Linked DNA regions of Homo sapiens: regions 1 and 3 are each linked to region 2. Evidence: promoter capture Hi-C in 16 types of primary human blood cells and fetal thymus (Javierre and others, 2016). All regions are on one chromosome and are shown on one strand. The core of a region is centred on a gene start or on the middle of the fragment in contact, and the rest is flanking DNA. Distances in the headings are between cores, read along the strand shown. Region 1 overlaps TRPV5 (transient receptor potential cation channel subfamily V member 5). Region 2 holds the start of EPHA1-AS1 (EPHA1 antisense RNA 1). Region 3 holds the start of OR9A2 (olfactory receptor family 9 subfamily A member 2).

Region 1 (4,162 bases), core at 1,364-3,863, 490 kb after region 2:
AAGCCTATTAGCACTTCAATTTAATGCCCCTTTCCATTTCTGAAATACTGAAATCTTCCTTACCTTTGCAAAGAGTATCTATTCTAAAGCAAGAGCTAACATTTTATATCAGTGTGAAACACTGGAGTTCCCCAGAAAGTCTAAAGAAAATCAAAGTGCTTTAAAAGCCCAATATTATCATTACTTCTATTGCAACTTTTACATACATATATTGTTTTTGTTTTCCAGAGAGATTAGTTTATAAAACAAAGCAAACAAAACCCTACAGAAGGGTTTGTATTCTGGTCTTGTAGAGCAGCAAGGAAGGGGGCTCTCAGGAGTCTGTGGCACTTTGCAGCCTGGTTTAAGGGTAAGGACCCCGGGGACAGAGTGCTGGAGGCAGCTACTCTAGGTCAGTCAGATCCCAGGCAGTGCAGAGGCAAAAAATTGGGGTTTCTGAACACCTCCATTACTCATTAGTGAATTTGTGCAGAGTAATGCGTACTTGTAAAGAAATCTGTTGAACTGGTGAGAGGAAGCCCCAGCAGGAGAATTTGGTGACCAAAACTGTCCCCAGCATTAGAGGGGTTTCACATTTTCATCTCCTGAAGGAATGGCTGCTGTGACTCCCTGGCTGGATTCTAGGGGCACCCTGATCTTCACAGCCATCCTCGCCAACTTATGTGTAGTCCTTTTCTTCTTGAGCCAAGAAAAGATTGGTAGCATCTTTTCAGACATATTAAATCAAGACACGACATTTTTAAAATAAAAATATTTTTATAGACACATATATGGCATAGATGCAGTTATTTCTATATTTAATGTTATTTTGTTTCTGAAGTAATGTATTTGTTATTTATCCTCCTACTCACTACCTGACTCTGTGAAGGAGTTGGCATGTTTTACAATAAAAGACAGATGCTATAGAAACATTAAGATAAAGAAAAAGAACACAGTCCGTGAACTGAATTTCAGGAGAGAAGAGAAGGAATTCAAAGATAGCTGCTAGAGCTGAGGACAAAAAAACAAAACAAAACAAAACAAAAAAAACGCACAAAAAAAAACCAGACACACAAAAAAATAGAACAAAACAAAACAAAAACTCTGAAATTCTTTGGAAGCAAGTAAAAAAAGAAATTTGCTATTATATGATAAAATAAAATTTACCAGTTTCTCAAGAGATAAATGTCAGAAAAGTTTACAGAGCATACCATTTTTTAAGCCAAAAAAGAAAAAAAAAAGTGTTGACTGATGTCTGGTCACAGGTTGTTAGACCACAGAGTTCTCCAGACACACAGACAGAAGCTTCTCTCCTAGTCTCTCTTGGTTCCCTGTGTTAAAAGCACTGCCTCTCACCGGGCAGGTGAGTGTGCTGCTGCAGTAGAGTCTGGAGAGATGCTTACAGGTTCCAGCTGATTAGCAGAGCAGGGATAATTGCCGTTCCTTATGCTAACTAGGGACCACATTCTCCCTGGCTCAAATCATCAGCTTTCCTGCTGGCCCCAGGGGACTCTCAACTCCTTTCTTGGGTGCACTATTTGGAGATGTGACCTTGGACAACAGAGCTCCCAAAAGTCAAAAGGCTGCTTGCATGTGTTGAAATTATTTGTGCAATATCATGTGGGAATTGTCTACATGGGAACACAGTTTTGTAGAAAGAAGATATACAGTTTTTATTATGTTTTCAAGTGAGCTCATAACTTCAAAAACATAAGGATAATTAATGTAGGATTCTAGCACTACATCTGTGATATTGCATAAGTTTCACCGTGAAGTAACATGCATTGAAGTAGGGTGGTCTTCATTCCACCTTGACCCTTGGACTATACCTTCTACAACTACTGCTCAGGATAGGCAGGGACCCTTCCTCATAGTGTCTCTAGCCCCTTCTCTGCTCTTTTCTGTAATGTCAAATCATCATAAAACCACAGTGAATATATCTATAGTGATTTATGATTTATAAAGTTCATGTAAATATATCATTAATGTAAGCTTCACAATGACTCTGGGAGGTAAGCACTGTAGCCTCCATTTTACAGATGAGAAAACTCAAGTTCAGAGATTTTCCATGAATGGTTCAAGGTCTCACTAGAGGTAGTAGATTCCGGATCCGTGAGGGAACCTGAATTCTGTGATATGTTTACAGTGTATTCTTCCCACTAGAAGCCATGATGAGGTTGGAAAAGGTGGACTTTCCACATAGCTGAAACCATCCCAAGCCACTAATACCTCTTCCTGTTAGCTCACTTGATGCGCTGAAATGTGTTCTCAGCTGCTCAGTATATACATCATAAATTTCTGCTTACAGCATCTATAGAAAAGGCGATTTTGCTAGATGGTAGCTCAAGACATTAGCATATGTGACGTCTATTAAACCTTGGATACATAGACTCCTGTCCTGGTCACAGAGTTACCCACAATGGCAAGTACAATGGGGGTGGGGTGATGCTGGTGGGAAGGGGAGTTTCCTTTATTTTGGATGGGCTTTAGCAGCTTTCGATCATTTGCACAAAAGGATTTGACTCTGCCCATCAGAAAGCACTTCTTCTGAATTTCCCCACATAGGAGGCCTATGAGACACGTGAAGATATCATCAGGCTGGTGGGGGAGCTGGTGAGCATCGTTGGGGCTGTGATCATCCTGCTCCTAGAGGTGAGGGGCAGGCGGGGTCCAGGCTAATCCCATCCCATCTAAGGCCCAGACTGTACCGCAGTCCACATTGTATTTTTGCTTTGCCGTCCTCTCCCCAGATTCCAGACATCTTCAGGGTTGGTGCCTCTCGCTATTTTGGAAAGACGATTCTTGGGGGGCCATTCCATGTCATCATGTGAGTATCCCCTCATTCCAGCCCCCTGCCTTTCCTTACCAGAATCTTTTCCTGTCTCCAGCTCACTCTCTGAGTTCTAGGCCTCAGGTCACTCTCACTCCAAGGACTTCTCTCCAGTGGACTTGTAGGTGTAACTGTATGTGCGTTTTAGGTGTAAAGACTAAGCCTGAGTGTGTGGATACCACCCCGGTCACCACTATGCTGTAGGGACCTAAAATAGTTCCAGCTTGTCTCTCACTCTCTGCTTTCTGCTCCCCCAGCATCACCTATGCCTCCCTGGTGCTGGTGACCATGGTGATGCGGCTCACCAACACCAATGGGGAGGTGGTGCCCATGTCCTTTGCCCTGGTGCTGGGCTGGTGCAGTGTCATGTATTTCACTCGAGGATTCCAGATGCTGGGTCCCTTCACCATCATGATCCAGAAGGTCAGTGCTTTCCCGAAGCTTCCTCCGCCTCAGGCACAAGACCTTCACAGACAGAGGGATGGAGGTAGAATGGAGCTGGTAGAACTATGGGGGCCTCTTGATCTGTTAGCGTTAGCTGCTCAAAAGCAGTGGAAAAGGAATCATCCCACCCTTTCTTCCTTCTGTTTCCTGCAGATGATTTTTGGAGACCTAATGCGTTTCTGCTGGCTGATGGCTGTGGTCATCTTGGGATTTGCCTCCGGTAAGGCACCATACACTCCTCTACTAGATCAGCAGATCTAGTTCTCCAGAAAGTTCACTCTCATTCTTGCTCTCAGTTCTCATTTGCACTTCATTTTGCTTTCTTTTTTTTTGTTTGTTTTTTGTTTTGTTTTTTCCTGTTGGAAGGTAAGTCTAAAAGCACACCCATATTTATAGGACCAGGGGCCACTCAGGTTGGCCTGGAACGTAAAGCCATGTGTTCAGGGCCAATAAGATTTATGTTCACTAACTGCCTTGCAAGATCTTTAAAGGAGAGACAGGAAAAGACTTTTGGTGAGAACAGGGCATTAAACAGGAAAGACTGGCCAGTCATGGATCTCAGAAAACCATGTGGACAAACAGAGATAGTGCCATGCTTAACTCTCCTATGTTTACAATTCAGAAGAGGAAACCTAAAGCACTCAACAACATATAACTTGCTTTTTTTCTATATGTGGTCATTTAAAGCTGAGAAAAATATGAAAGAATTAGAAAAAGGAGGTGCAGAAAAACAGCTTGGACAGTTTGAAGATGACAGAGAAAACAAAAAAGAAGAGTTGTGAAGAGAGACTGGGAGAACAGGAACACACAGGCACCCAGTCAAGGCACAGCCAGTGAAAGTGCCAGGGAGCAAAAGAAAGGAACGGCACAGCAGGAAAACACAGGCAGGTGGAAACAGCCAGAGGGAAG
Region 2 (4,208 bases), core at 1,170-3,669:
TGTGATCCCTGTGTGTACCTTGCCTGGGGTCCACTCCTGCCCGCCATTTCAATCATTTGTGCAATTATTTATGTCTCAACCCCCAGCATCCCCAAATTAATAGCTTATATAGGGCAAGACATTGTCCTTCTGTTCTTAGGTGCTTCTAGAGCTTCCTGCATGCATAGCAGAAACTGAACAAACATTTACTAAATAGAATATAAGAAAGTCTCGGCAGAGCGCAGTAACTCAGGCCTGTAATTCCAGGACTTTGGGAGGCAGAGGCAGGGAGATCACTTGAGATCAGGAGGGATCACCTAAGGTCAGGAGTTCGACACCAGGCTGGCCAACATGGTGAAACCCCGTCTCTACTAAAAATAGAAAAATTAGCTGGGTGTGGTGGTGCACGCTTGACGCTTGTGATCCCAGTTACTCGGGAGGCTGAGGCAGGAGGATCGTTTGAACCAGGGAGGCGGAGGTTGCAGTGAGCCAAGATTGCACCACTGCACTGCAGCCTGGGCCACAGAGCGAGACTCCATCTCAAAAAAGAAAAAGAATATAAGGAAGTCCGCAAGAAAGTGAGAGGGCACGTGGTTTGACACCACTAAGATGGGTTAAAATATCCTTCCCTGCCACCTGTGGCTGGAACCTTAACCAGATATTCATGTCTGCTGTGTAAGTGCATGTCAAGGTTCAAACTCCTTTTCTTGTTTACCCAGCCCTGGCCCACACCTGCCTTTCTGCCCTGATTCCCAAGACAAATCCTGCGCCCCAGCAGTCAAACTGGTCCATTCACCACTCCCTGGGCGCACCTTGAGGCTCCCTGCCTTCAGGCCCTTGCTGGTGCCTTTCCCAATCTCTGCCACTGAAAACCCAGGTCACACCAGCTCTCCCTGAAGACTCAACTAATGTGCCCCGATGACTGGGCTTGCTTCCTCTTCTAATCTCCAGATGCTTCACTGCAGGTTGTACCCCACCTTGCATTGTGGTCATCTAAGCCTCCCCTGCTAGAGGGTGAAGATATGACTCTTACCCCTTGCCTTCCCCGGCCCTATTACCCAGCTCTGGGGCCTGCACAAAGACAGAAAGAGGAATATAGGAGTGTAATTCAAGTCAGAGGTAGAATTAGGTTAAAAGCTGGATCAAGATTGGGTTGAGTTTAGGATTAGAATTGGGAAAAGGTTCGTCAATTCTTAATCCCACCTACTAGGCGGCGCCCGCAGTCTCATTCGGGTCAAGACGCCTCCGGTTCTTGAATTTGATTACCAGTCTAGCAAGTTTCTTTCCTGCCCTACTGTCCCTTTAAGGAGGTGAACCAGGTGAGGCCGGGACTCCGCCCCCGGCGCTGGCCCCGCCCCCCGCCCCCGCCCGGCCCGCCCGGCTCTCCTAGTCCCTTGCAACCTGGCGCTGCCATCCGGGCCACTGTCCCAGGTCCCGGCCCGGAGCTATGGAGCGGCGCTGGCCCCTGGGGCTAGGGCTGGTGCTGCTGCTCTGCGCCCCGCTGCCCCCGGGGGCGCGCGCCAAGGAAGGTACCGACCCCCGCCCCCGCGCCCCCAACCCCCGCGCCCCGCCCCTTCCCGGGGCCCGGCCAGCACCCCCCTGCAGAAGCCGGCATTCCTAGGGGCCATGTTCCCCGAGACCCTCGCCAGCTCTCTCGCTGTGCCCGACCGCCAGGCTATCGACTGGCCAGGCCCATCTTTGGTCTTTAACCCCAAGCGGCTGCTCTCCCGGGTCAGTCACCCCCACTCCCGCAGGCCAGCAATCTGCTCCTGGGAGTGGGGAGGGAATTCCGGACCCTTGCCAGGAAGTAGCACCTGCACCCGCACCCCTGCCTGCATTCCCAGACAGTCCCAGCTTCAGGTGCCCACCCCAGAGATCTGAGCCCTTGGAAGTTGAAGGTGGGAAGTCGCCTCCTGCCAACCTAGGCCAGGGACAGAGGGAGCTGCCTCCGGGAGAAGGGTTAGGACTGACGCCACAGGGGTTCCCAGTTGTCCGAGTCGAATATTCCATGTGAAAGTTGGAACACCCTCTCCGGCCTTACTCCCCCCCACTTCCCAGGCAGGTAGCTGTGCCTCTTATCCCCACTTCACGGCTCTGATCACTGGCCAGGTCAGGCCAAAGCAGGCTTCGGACAGTGGAGGTGAGCCTCCCTACCCAGGAAACCCCTTCTGAGGTCCCCGGTCCACCCTGCCCACTCCTGGCTAGCAGAGGTGAGCTCCTCCTGCCCTCCACGCGTTCCAATCCTGCAGCTGATGGGTGTCCCAGGACGCAGCAGCCTGGGTAACTGAGCGTCTCGTGGGGCTGCTCTTCTTGCATTGACTTTGGTCAAAGACCCAGCGCCCCAACCCTTGTCCCACTCTACCTGCCTTCCTTCACACACACAAAGAAGAGTGAAATCCCTGGAGCTCTTCACTCCTCAGTCCTGAGCCCTTTTTCTCCCCTAAGCCTCAGGAAGTCACAGCTTTTAGGAACAGGATGTTGCAGCCTGGGGCTGAGGCCCCAGAATGATTAATGTGGGCTGCAGGGGCACCTCCTCCCCCAGAGGTGACAGACTTCTTTTCTCCCCACTTTCAGTTACTCTGATGGACACAAGCAAGGCACAGGGAGAGCTGGGCTGGCTGCTGGATCCCCCAAAAGATGGGGTAAGTGTCGGAAGAGGGAAGGATCTTGGAAAACTCCTGAAGGCCAGTGGGAAATGGGGTGGAGAGGTGGGTGGAGGAACAGAGAAAAGAGCAGGAAAAACTGGAAGTGTCTCCTCAGGGAGGGGGAGAGGAGGCTGAGTCAGAGCCTCCTCAATGGGACAAGGGGTGGGGGGGTCAGACTTCACCTCAAGATGAACGCTTGAATGGCCTGGCTCCTCCAGTGAATACTTGGGAATATTGTGAATACAAGCTGATACTTGTGAGGGGGAGAGGAGCTCACATACCCGGGGAGAGAATGCACCATGCTGGGGATGGTTGAAGGCTGAGACCAGTGCTTTGCTTGGGGAGGGATAGAAAAGGCAGAAAAGCATCCTCAATCTGAGATCCATTCATCCCAATGAAGTTGCATTGATAGGTTTCAGGGGGTGGGGAAACCCCATGAAAGTGTACTCTAAATTCTGTATATGTAAGCGGGCATTTTTTTTTCTGGAGAGACCAGCCAAAGCTTTCATCAAATTCTTCAAAGGGTCTTTGACTCCTCCGAAGTTAAAAGCTGCTCCCCTAAAGGTTTCTGAGCCCTTAGCTCATCCTCCACACCTCCTCAGGCTGACTGCGTGCACACCATGCATTCCAGCTGTTTGAAAGTGTCAGAGCTTGTTCCAGTTCCCTTCCTTCCTTGGATGTTCCTAAGACTCAGTGAACAGGTTGTGAGGTGGGTCTGAGAGAGCATATTCAGACTCAAATGCAGAGAGCAGCTCTTATGATGTACAAAAAACCAAACTCAGTTTTTTCCTACTGCACTCTCAACACAAATCACTTCGGTGACCTGTGGTCACCAAAATGCGTGTAGGGATTCCTCCCGCCTGCAGTCAGTTCTCTCTGGCAGATTCTTCAGTGGACAGTAGCTGAGTGTCCTCTAATCTTATTCAGTTCTTACACTATCTACCTGGAGATAGCCTCAGGTTGAGGGCTCAGCCCCACAAGACTGCCCTCCTCTAGACAACAATCACAAGTAACATGTTGTCACCTATACTTCTGTTCCATCGGCTGTAATCAGGTTTACCTGACCCTCCTCCTCGGGTTCAATTAGTTTGCTAGGATGGCTCACAGAACTCAGGGAAACATTGACTTGGATTTACTGGCTTACTATAACGGTTATTACAAATGGTACCATGAACACCAGATGGAATAGCTGCATGGGGCAAGGTATATGTGAAGGAGGCGAGCCACCCTGCAGGGACCTAATCATGTATGGCCATCCAGAAGCCCTCCCAACCCCATCCTTCTGGGCTTTTATGGAGACTTCATTACATAGGCGTGATTAATTAGATCATTGCCCACTGGTTATCAGCTCAACCTTCAACCTCTCTACCTTCCCTGGAAGTTGGGGGTGGGGCCGAAAGTCCCAACTCCAATCACAAGGTTGCCTTCTGCCACCCAGGCCTCCCCCACCCCAGTCTAGTTCCCATCCCCGGCAGTCAGCTCACTAGCATATAAAAAGACATTTGTCACTTCAGGGATTTTGAGGGCTTTAGGGGTTGTTTGCCAGGAAATGTGGACAAAGACCAAATATATATTTTACAATTC
Region 3 (4,630 bases), core at 1,871-4,370, 380 kb after region 2:
AGCATTAGACAGATTTCCAACTTACATTTTGTCAGTTCCTCCAGGTTGCAAACAGAACTGTGTACATAAGCTGTCCTTATGCTCTCTCTACTTTGCAGTGGTCCAGCTGGTAATCAGGGACATGCCATAGGAAAAAAAAAAGTCTGGAAGAATCTTGCTGGAATGCATACAGATGCACATATATCAAGAGGAGTGAAAACCTGAGACAATAGAACAGAATAGAGTTCGATTTAGGGGAGGGACCTCTTACAGTATTCTGTAGGGTCCACAGGACTAAACGCAGGAGCCTTTTTAAAATGAATGAAGGAGTCATCAGGCTTTTTAGAAGATATTTGGTGAAGTTAAGGCTTTGACCAAGACCAATATGCAGACTTTTTTGGGATATTGGTGCATGTTTTAGAGGCCAATTGTGGTGTCTCCTACTGGGGGAAAAGGGTTGATTTAGGCTCCGAATAACTAGAGAAACTTGAGAAAAGCCTAAGATAAACGACAGAGGTAGTTGACTGTTTAGAATCTGAGACATCTGGAAACCTAGACCTGAGGTTTTCAGGAAGGCAGCCCCAGTATTAAGAAGTCCCTGATTGGTAAGATTTCAGGTTTTCCCGTCAAACAAAAACTTTCAAAAGTTCTAAAACTTAATTGGTCAAAAAATGGGAATAACTTAAAGTTTGTTCTGCTCCCACTAGACTGATTGCCTGGGGACTCCCTGAACGTGGGCTAATTAAGAAGTAGTAACTCGGTGATTAAGTACCCTTGGGAAGAAGGGAAGAGGGAGGAGAGGGGAGAGAGAGAGGACCCTCAACTTTGCCCAACACTCATTTCTGGGCTTTTTCCTAAGCTCCTCTGGGAGGACATTTCCCTTCTTCGCCATGAGTGGGGATTGCAGCAACTTGTTCTGGCCCCTGTGCATGGCTCAGCACTAGCAGGACAGGAGGTAGCCTCAGCGGAGCCCTAGAGAACATCAGAAGAGGCGGCGAAGCCCCTCTGTAAAGGTGAGTGTCTTTCCAAGGGGTCTCCTCTATGAAGAAGAGGGTAAAAGCATTTTAGGATGGGACATCCTGGGCCTGCCTATCTTCTAGAACAAAGTCACCCAGATATTGAAGTGTGGGCTAGGGGAGCAGTAGAGTGTATAGGCTCATCTCCAGACCCTTCCTGCATAGCAGAGAGCACTTCCGGCTCCTCTTGGACCCAATGCTAACACAGTCACGGCTCCCTGACAGTCGGTGTCCTTCTCGCTCATGTTTCTTCATCTCGTGCTGGTTATGCAGAGGTTGTGGAAAACCAGAACACTGAGCTTTCCCATCAATTCTGTCCCTGAAGCTTTTTAAACCATTAGTAAAACAGTGACGTAGACAGGGAAGGGGTTACCTAAGCAAGGGAAGGGCAGGAGGGAAAATGGTAATGTGAGGCAGGAAGGAAAACCAACCAGAATAGGATTGAGGGAATGTGGCCCAGGCCCTGGCCAGAACAAGTATTATTTAATCATATATTATCCATCCATCCATCCATACCTCATCTAGCAAAATTTGTCAGCACTACTTATTTTATGTATATGATACATATATCTTATGTATTTAAATATCTTATAAATAAAAAATATATGTATATTTTATATAATATAAGATATATTTCATATATCTTATTTCATATATCTTATATAAATAAGATAAATAATATAAGATAATAATATAATATAAGGTGTGGTAGTTAGCTGTGTGAGTGATGAAATCTGACAGACCTAGGTTCAAATCTTGACTCACACAGCTATTAGTTCGGTTACCTTGTGATAAATTAATACATAATTTAATATATAAGATATATCTATGATATATTCATTTCACATAATGTATCTGTCTATATCTATATAAAAGATATATGATATATATATATAAAATATATAACTACTTAATTTATGTATGTACATTTTATGTGCCAGCCTCAGAATACAACAGTGAAGACATGTCCTAGCCCTCATGGAGTTTATATTCTAATGCCGTTGATAAATAATAAATACACTTAAATTTCCTCTCCTTCTTTCTTGCTTATTTTTTTCCCTGTGACATGATAAGCAAACTAAACTATTGCATATTTTACTTAGGTGTCTTGTGTGTGGTCTAGCCCCCACCTCTTCCTTGAATATAAGCTCCACAGGGCATGGAATTTTCTTTGTTCTGTTCATGACTACATTTGTTTATTGTTAAATAAAGGAATGAAGTAAATAATTAGACATAATACAAGGTAATAACAACTGTTATTAAAAAAATGGAAGTCCAATAATAAGTGTGTCTTTTCTGTTTTGGGCAGAGTGATTGGAAAGAGTCTTTGGAAAGGGTGACATTTGAATAATGGAATGAAGCGACAGGCAGAGAGCCAGGCATCCTTAACAGCTGGCGGTCCCAGATCTATTCCTTTTCTGTGCCAGGTGCCATCTTTCCTTCCTCCCACAACTTTGGAAGGAAAATGGAATTAGAGAAGAATGGATCTGTTCTGGGAAATTATCCCAAGCTCTAGAGTTCTCATTTAGAGATCTTGCTGTTCTGTAAAATGGAGATTTTAAAATCTGGAACAGCAGAGATGTTAGTCTTACATCCTCTGCCTCCTTTCTGCTGGCCCCAAAGGTGGGTCTATGCATTACCATTACAGATGAGAGCTGGGGTTTAAAATTCTGTCCTTTGAACATCATATAAAATGCCTTTGTGTCATCTTGCACAGTTAACCTAAGAGAAAGTAACTCCAGGACCGGAGGGACCTGATTGACTCACCTTTAAAACTGGCCTATTTAAAAGGTCTTAGCCTCTGCCCCCGAGAGAAGGTATATTTAATGGGGAAAAAGGCAAGGAAGGTATTTCACCACCAGTAGAAGAAGATGTCTTCACCCATTCTAGGGGGCTGGTTACACAGGGAAGTGAGAGCCTCACTTGTAGACTTGGGATGACAACATGTACCTCAAGCTATGTATGTGCCGACCACAGTAGCAGGGACATGTCACCTGATTCTCAGGTTGGAAATAGTTTCTTAACCTAATTTTTCTTCCTTCTCTCTTGAGAGCAGGACCATGTGGAGCAATGCCACCTCTCTTTTAATCTCTGGGCTTCAAAACAAGCAGAATCAAGGACTAAATGATGGACAACCACTCTAGTGCCACTGAATTCCACCTTCTAGGCTTCCCTGGGTCCCAAGGACTACACCACATTCTTTTTGCTATATTCTTTTTCTTCTATTTAGTGACATTAATGGGAAACACGGTCATCATTGTGATTGTCTGTGTGGATAAACGTCTGCAGTCCCCCATGTATTTCTTCCTCAGCCACCTCTCTACCCTGGAGATCCTGGTCACAACCATAATTGTCCCCATGATGCTTTGGGGATTGCTCTTCCTGGGATGCAGACAGTATCTTTCTCTACATGTATCGCTCAACTTTTCCTGTGGGACCATGGAGTTTGCATTACTTGGAGTGATGGCTGTGGACCGTTATGTGGCTGTGTGTAACCCTTTGAGGTACAACATCATTATGAACAGCAGTACCTGTATTTGGGTGGTAATAGTGTCATGGGTGTTTGGATTTCTTTCTGAAATCTGGCCCATCTATGCCACATTTCAGTTTACCTTCCGCAAATCAAATTCATTAGACCATTTTTACTGTGACCGAGGGCAATTGCTCAAACTGTCCTGCGATAACACTCTTCTCACAGAGTTTATCCTTTTCTTAATGGCTGTTTTTATTCTCATTGGTTCTTTGATCCCTACGATTGTCTCCTACACCTACATTATCTCCACCATCCTCAAGATCCCGTCAGCCTCTGGCCGGAGGAAAGCCTTCTCCACTTTTGCCTCCCACTTCACCTGTGTTGTGATTGGCTATGGCAGCTGCTTGTTTCTCTACGTGAAACCCAAGCAAACACAGGGAGTTGAGTACAATAAGATAGTTTCCCTGTTGGTTTCTGTGTTAACCCCCTTCCTGAATCCTTTCATCTTTACTCTTCGGAATGACAAAGTCAAAGAGGCCCTCCGAGATGGGATGAAACGCTGCTGTCAACTCCTGAAAGATTAGCTGTTCTGTAAGTCAGTTTTAGGTGGTCCAAGCCTCAGGGTTAATTATTAAGTCACCTAGAAAATTCTAACTCCTCTTTTCTCTTATCCTCTCATTACAAAAGTCAAAGAGTGTGTACAATTCGCCATCACACCATGGAAGTAGATTAGGCTGGTAATAATGAAATCCATTGTCTGTCCAGGAGACTCTCATAGCCTTAGTTCCTGCCTGTTTCCACTGTTGAACATATTCTTGTGATTTGGGGGGGACTAGAGAAAGGAAATGCAGACATTTTTGTAAGAATTCTATTAGCCCAACTCATTTCCTCATAGTCCATCTCTGAAAATGTATTTTCTGGGGAAGGGAGGAAGTGTGGAGGGAGGTGTACTGAGAAAGGTGTCCTAATCAGAGTAGAAAGGTAGAGATGCTCACTTTGGTCCTTCATCACCTGTTGCTAAGTTCTTCCCTATATTTTTGTGCAATTTTTTGGCAAGATGGCCATATGCATTTTAGATATCCTAAAGCTCTTTCTCTCTGCCCCATTGATACTGGAAAGGAAGTGTAACACTGTTTACGTTTTGTCACAGAACCAGTCTAGA

What was found. The method cuts DNA at HindIII sites, captures the fragments that hold promoters and counts their contacts. A CHiCAGO score of 5 or more calls a contact.
Region 1: a fragment that was not itself captured here is called in contact with the fragment with the promoter of EPHA1-AS1 in region 2 in 1 of 17 cell types (neutrophils); the score reaches 5.5 in neutrophils.
Region 3: a contact is called between the fragment with the promoter of OR9A2 here and the fragment with the promoter of EPHA1-AS1 in region 2, in 1 of 17 cell types (neutrophils). The highest score is 5.0, in neutrophils.

What each region holds. Positions count from the first base shown.
Region 1 is chr7:142,913,951-142,918,112 of GRCh38, reverse strand. TRPV5 (transient receptor potential cation channel subfamily V member 5) reads left to right here. Exons shown (of 15, transcript NM_019841.7): 9 at 2,545-2,631; 10 at 2,730-2,806; 11 at 3,067-3,232; 12 at 3,407-3,473. Among named protein-coding and RNA genes, the nearest start is that of TRPV5, 18 kb to the left of the region's middle. The HindIII fragment of the contact is 1,279 bases long and covers 1,974-3,252 here.
Region 2 is chr7:143,406,024-143,410,231 of GRCh38, reverse strand. EPHA1-AS1 (EPHA1 antisense RNA 1) reads right to left here and starts at 2,419. Exons shown (of 5, transcript NR_033897.1): 1 at 2,346-2,419. It overlaps EPHA1 (EPH receptor A1), which reads left to right and starts at 1,376. Exons shown (of 18, transcript NM_005232.5): 1 at 1,376-1,508; 2 at 2,554-2,621. The coding sequence starts at 1,427. RefSeq lists an enhancer at 692-1,304. The HindIII fragment of the contact is 7,900 bases long and covers 1-3,128 here.
Region 3 is chr7:143,025,622-143,030,251 of GRCh38, reverse strand. OR9A2 (olfactory receptor family 9 subfamily A member 2) reads left to right here and starts at 3,120. Exons shown (of 1, transcript NM_001001658.1): 1 at 3,120-4,052. The coding sequence starts at 3,120. The coding sequence ends at 4,052. LOC105375544 (a long non-coding RNA gene) reads left to right here. Exons shown (of 2, transcript XR_001745395.1): 2 at 1-992. The HindIII fragment of the contact is 3,416 bases long and covers 1,323-4,630 here.